2 separate regions of the Homo sapiens genome follow, and region 1 is linked to region 2. Evidence: promoter capture Hi-C in 16 types of primary human blood cells and fetal thymus (Javierre and others, 2016). All regions are on one chromosome and are shown on one strand. Each heading gives the region's core, a stretch centred on a gene start or on the middle of the fragment in contact. The rest is flanking DNA. Distances are from core to core; before and after follow the strand shown.

What was found. The method cuts DNA at HindIII sites, captures the fragments that hold promoters and counts their contacts. A CHiCAGO score of 5 or more calls a contact.
Region 1: a contact is called between a fragment that was not itself captured here and the fragment with the promoter of SDR9C7 in region 2, in 5 of 17 cell types (M2 macrophages, M1 macrophages, megakaryocytes and 2 more). The highest score is 9.3, in M2 macrophages.

Annotation. Positions count from the first base shown.
Region 1 is chr12:56,987,369-56,990,068 of GRCh38, reverse strand. All of the region lies in intron 2 of LOC124902945 (a long non-coding RNA gene), which reads left to right. Among named protein-coding and RNA genes, the nearest start is that of ACKR5, 5.8 kb to the left of the region's middle. The HindIII fragment of the contact is 313 bases long and covers 1,201-1,513 here.
Region 2 is chr12:56,933,115-56,935,814 of GRCh38, reverse strand. It overlaps SDR9C7 (short chain dehydrogenase/reductase family 9C member 7), which reads left to right and starts at 1,407. Exons shown (of 4, transcript NM_148897.3): 1 at 1,407-1,854. The coding sequence starts at 1,554. The HindIII fragment of the contact is 2,217 bases long and covers 808-2,700 here.

The sequences.
Region 1 (2,700 bases), core at 108-2,607, 54 kb before region 2:
GGGTACGATGATATCGCGTCATGGTTTTTATTTGCATTCCTCTGATGATTAGTGATGTTGAGCATTTTTTCATATATCTGTTGGCCATTTGAAAAATGTCTTTTGAAAAATGTCTTCTTTTGAAAAATGTCTATTCATGTCATTTGCCCACATTTTAGTGGGATTATTTGTGGGGTTTTTTTTTTTCTTGCTCGAGTTCTTTGTATATTTTGGATATCTCCCCTGTCAGATGAATAGTTTACAAATATTTTCTCCAGTTCTGCGGGTTGTTCATTCTGTTGCTTATTTCTTTTGTTGTGCAGAGCTTTTTAGTTTAGTTAAGTCCCAGTTGTTTATTTTTGTTTTTGTTGCCTGTGCTTCTGAGATCTTAGTCATAAATTCTTTGCCTAGTCCAATGTCCAGGAGACTTTTCCTTATACTAGATAGTAGATTTTTCCTGCAATACTAGATTTTCTTCTAATAATTTAATAATAGTTTTGGGTCTTATATGTAAGTCTTTAATCCATCTTGAGTTGATTTTTGTGTCTGGTGAGAGATAGGAGTTTAATGTCAGTTTCTTAATATGTAAAGTGAGGATAATGATGCTTCCCTTACAGGTTATTATATGGGATACATGAGATAATATATACAAGCATGCTCCTTTTCCACTTCATGGGGATAAGGAAAAAGGAATCCCATCTTGTGGAATTGACACTGAGAGACCTCTCTAGTCCTATTACCACCAGCCATTTTTTTCCTCTCTGAATTAGATCAACATGAGCCTCCTCTTTTATTTGGCTGTCTTGGGTTGTGTTTTTTACATAGAAGGGTGGGAACATTCCCAAATGTCACTATGAATTACCACAGAGAAATGTAGTAATAGTAACAGCTGATGTTTATTGAATACGCACCATTGGCTAGACACAGTTGTAAGGGGCTTTATCCATATCACCTCATTTAATCCTCATAACAACTTCATGGAGTGGGTACTACCATCGACAAGGAAACTGAAGCACAGAAACTTTAAATAACTTGCCCCAGTCACACAGCTAGTAGGTCAATAAGCCCATATTACAAGGATTCTTGAGCTGGATTCCATGCAGCTAATGGTTTTAGGTGTGAACTGTATGAAAAGTATAAGCAAGTTTTTGATTGTTGTGTTATGTGGGGGGCTTATAACCTTCCTTAGATTCTCGAAGGGGCCCATGATGTCCAAAAGCTTTAAAAAAAAATGACCCTTGGAGAGCTTCTGCTAGACTGGGGTCAGGATAAAAACAGCAATGTTGGGTATCCACTTGTGTGGAGCTGACTCAGCCCTGGGAATTCTAGGAAATTTCTTGCATGAGGAAGGAGGTGTCTCCTTCATGAAGGCTGAGGGATTTGTAGGATGATCTCGGAGGGATTTGAAAAGGGGAAAGTGAATGTCTTTGCTTCCCATTCCCTATCTTTCACTAGATGAAGGACAACTGTTTCCTCTGTGATTTCCCAAGTGTGAGAAGGGAGGGTGTGACATCAGTCTAAGGAAGAGGAAGCTTGAAAAGACTGATAAGAGACTGGAAGGGCCCCAGGTACTATTAATATCCCTCTGCCGCCTACAGCACTAGCAGCCTCCCCGCATGCCGCCACCCTTCCCCCTTCCTTTGGTCTCCTATCTCTCCCAGCTTCTGTTTCTCCCTCACTCTCCCATCTCCTGATCTGCACCCCTCCCCCAGCCTCTCTGTAGATGTGGTAAGTCTCTTGTTGGTTCCAGATTTCTTCCGTTTCTGTTAACTTTTGTTGAGCACCTAATGTATGCTGGTCAGAAATTCTCCAGTGCTTCCCAAGACCCCATCTTTCTAAGTTTTCACCATTTTAATAAAGGCATATGGATTCTTAGACTCCCTGAAATTGGAGATGGGAGGACTTGACAAAGTCATCTTGATTCTCCTCCCTCGTTATAAAGATGAGAAAAATGGAGGCTTTAGGAAATCTCATATTGTCGCATGATGTAAGAAATAGTGATGAAAATGGAAAGCGAAGCCAGATGTTGCAGTGTCAGCTACCTCAACATTCCTTCATCTCTGCTAGAAGCTAGCACTGCCGGGGCTGGAAATACAAAAATGACTGGACTCAGTCTCGGAGCCCTCAAGGGGCTCCGAGTCTGTCAAACCTCTAGTATGCAGCACACTCAAGGCACCATCCATGTTGCTTAATTAACAGTAGTCCAGTCTCTTACCAGCCAGCAGTCTTGCTGTTTCCCTCCTTCTTGGAGGATCCGTGCAGGGAGATATGGGGGCTCCCCGATGCTGGAGAGAGTGGCCATTGGGATGAGCTGAAGAGCCTTGGCTGATCCCAGGCCGATGCCCACGTCGTGACTGCAGGGCTAGAGAAGAACCACCAGGGGGCGCGCGGCTCTTTGCTAGCCTCTGGTTTCTGCAGGAAACCTCTCCTTCCCCCTCCCAGTCCATCTCCACTTCTTCCTTCAATTAGGGGACAGAAATTGGGCAAACATGGACAGTGGGAGAGAGGCCCAGTGCAAATAAACCCTGGATTATTCTGTCCCACACCTACTCCCCCAGCTCCCTGCCCCTCTACATCCTGCCCACCAGTTATGAAATAGTTTCCTCGACCTCACACCGAGGGACCCTCCATGGACAGCAGAGGTCCAGTCTGTACCCCTTTCTGTAGTCTCCTGAGAAGGAGATCCCTCCTGTCCATCAACACCCTGATACAAACTGAAGT
Region 2 (2,700 bases), core at 158-2,657:
TCACCCAGGAGGCAGACAGAGACTGGGAGATTGTTCCCAGATCCCGCATAGGAGGTGCTCTGCCTCAGGTTGGTTATGAAGTAGGTGTGGTTTGCTTTCTACCATTTCCCACCTCCATCCCCTATAAGCTTTAGGTCTGCTCTTTGGGGGTGGGTTCATAATCTGGCCCCCTCCCCTACTTTGTTAAGGAACGGCCAAACCCTGCGGGGCTTTCCCAGGGTGACACCTGCTTTATGTGATTCCACGCTGGTCAGACTTGGCAAATGGTGGATCACAGAGATACATCCTTTGTCCCTTCACACTAGAGAACTTTGTGGTCCCATTTCTGTGTCAGACTCGCTAAGCCATGAAGGTGTGAGCTAGGACCAGGCTCATCCCAAGGAATGGTGACCCTAGATGTTGATCCAAAGAACCACAGAGGCTCCAGCATCATTCCCTGCATCTTATGCAATTCTGGGTGTGGCCCCTCACTACTCACACCTCTGGTTTCCTTATTTCCTTTCCTTTACCACCTTACCTCTTAGCTTTCTGTAAATTATTTGCTAAATTGCCTAGAATCTCTGTTTCTCCTCCAAGTCCCGACCCTGAGAATTTTCTATGTCTCTGGCCCCAGTTCTCTGCTCCTCCTATATCTCATCCCCTCTTACAGTCAAGGCCTCTGCCCAGACAATTCCCTCAGCTGCCCAGTGAACTCATGATCCCTCCTCATCATCTTGCCCAGGGCTGCTTACTGGTGACCTGAGTATGACCCCCACAGGGTGTCAGGCCTGAGTCCCCCAGGTCTTTCTGCTTTCTGGTGGCTAAGCTTCACATGCCAGCCTCCCCTATAGGAGGGCCCTGCTGCCTCTAGCCTCAGGACAATGGAGGTACATCCACCCTAGGAGAAATCCATTGCTTTTCATCCTCTCTCATGATGGAGACTTACCTAAGAATTCCAGAGAGCTGATGACCTGCGACTTGTTTCTCTTGGGGTTTGGAAGGTACAGAACCAATGTTGTTTGTTTTACATTAATAAATTTGTCTTGAGTATTTTCCCTGAAAATAAACTTATTTACATACCTGCACTCACGACAAATGATTTTGATCCCTGGAGACCAAAATCCCCAGGCTGGGTTGGGGGCAGGGTGGGGACAGGATTTCTAGGGGAGCTGTCTGGGGTGAGTCCTCATCTTTCATTTGCCTGCCTTACACCGCCTGGGTGAGCCACCACTCATCACCAACATTACAAGTGGATTATTTCCAATTCTTGGCAGCTTTACCCATCAGGGCAGGGGGAGAGAGGGAGGCAGCTACCAGGGCTGTCAGAGGTGACAAGGCTTCAGGTTGGACTTGAATTTCTTGCATCTGGGCTAATTGCTGTGGTGATGCATCCACCTATAAAAATTACAGCGTGGCTCACCCAGGGACCTAGATTTGTTGCAAGCTGTGGGAGGAAGGAGAGTTCTTCTTCCAGGTGGTTTCCTGCAGACTGCCTGCTAGGGCTCAGAGGACCAGCTTCTTCCCTGCTGTCTCCTGAGCCCAGTCCCTCTTGGCCATCACATTCCCCTTGCCCTATGGCGGCCCTCACAGACCTCTCATTTATGTATCGCTGGTTCAAGAACTGCAATCTGGTTGGCAACCTCTCAGAGAAGTACGTCTTCATCACAGGCTGTGACTCTGGCTTCGGGAACCTGCTGGCCAAACAGCTGGTTGATCGGGGCATGCAGGTGCTGGCTGCTTGCTTCACTGAGGAGGGATCCCAGAAACTTCAGCGGGATACCTCCTATCGGCTGCAGACCACCCTACTGGATGTCACCAAGAGCGAAAGCATCAAGGCGGCGGCCCAGTGGGTGAGGGACAAAGTGGGCGAACAAGGTGGGGCGAATTACATTCTTTGGCTTTCTTGGTTTCTCCTTCTTCCTCTTCCTCTCTCCCGAAGCATCTGACAGTATCAGAGACCCTGATGTCCAGATTGGGTGGGAGGGGTGATGTAGGGAAAGGCCCCTGCCTCAATCTGATTGGAAGCCACTGCATGGTTTGGCCTGTTCACATGAAGGGGTGATTTCCCAAGGAAGTTTTCTGTCCTGGAAACTCAGAGAAACGGGAAAGAGGTCTCAATAGGAAGCGAGGGGGGAAGATGTGTTCTGTGTGTCCAAACCTCTAAAAATGGACGTGCCTGGCTGGGCGTGGTGGCTCACGCCTATGAGCCCAGCACTTTGGAAGGCCGAAGTGGGAGGATCATGAGGTCAAGAGATCGAGACCATCCCGGCCAACATGGTGAAACCCCATCTCTACTAAAAAGTATAAAAATTACCTGGGTGTGGTGGCACGTGCCTGTAGTCCCAGCTACTCAGGAGGCTGAGGCAGGAGAATCACTTGAACCCGGGAGGCGGAGGTTGCAGTGAGCCAAGATTGCGCCACTGCACTCCAGCCTCGTGACAGAGCAAGAATCCCTCTCAAAAAGAAAAAAAAGAAAAAAAAAGGATGTGCCTCTCTGATGTTTCAGCAGTCCTAACCATCAGCTCCTGGGGAAATACAAACACATTTCTTGTTGGGATCAGGATGGGGGAGGGGGAATGAGACAGGAGGCTGGATCCCATGAGTGGGTGCAGTTTGTCTCCTTGACTATGTCAGGCAGGGGAGAAAGAGATCTGGTCTCTTCTTGACATCATGGTGGGTGTTGATTTGACTTCAGGGCAAGTATGTATGTCACAGTGGCTG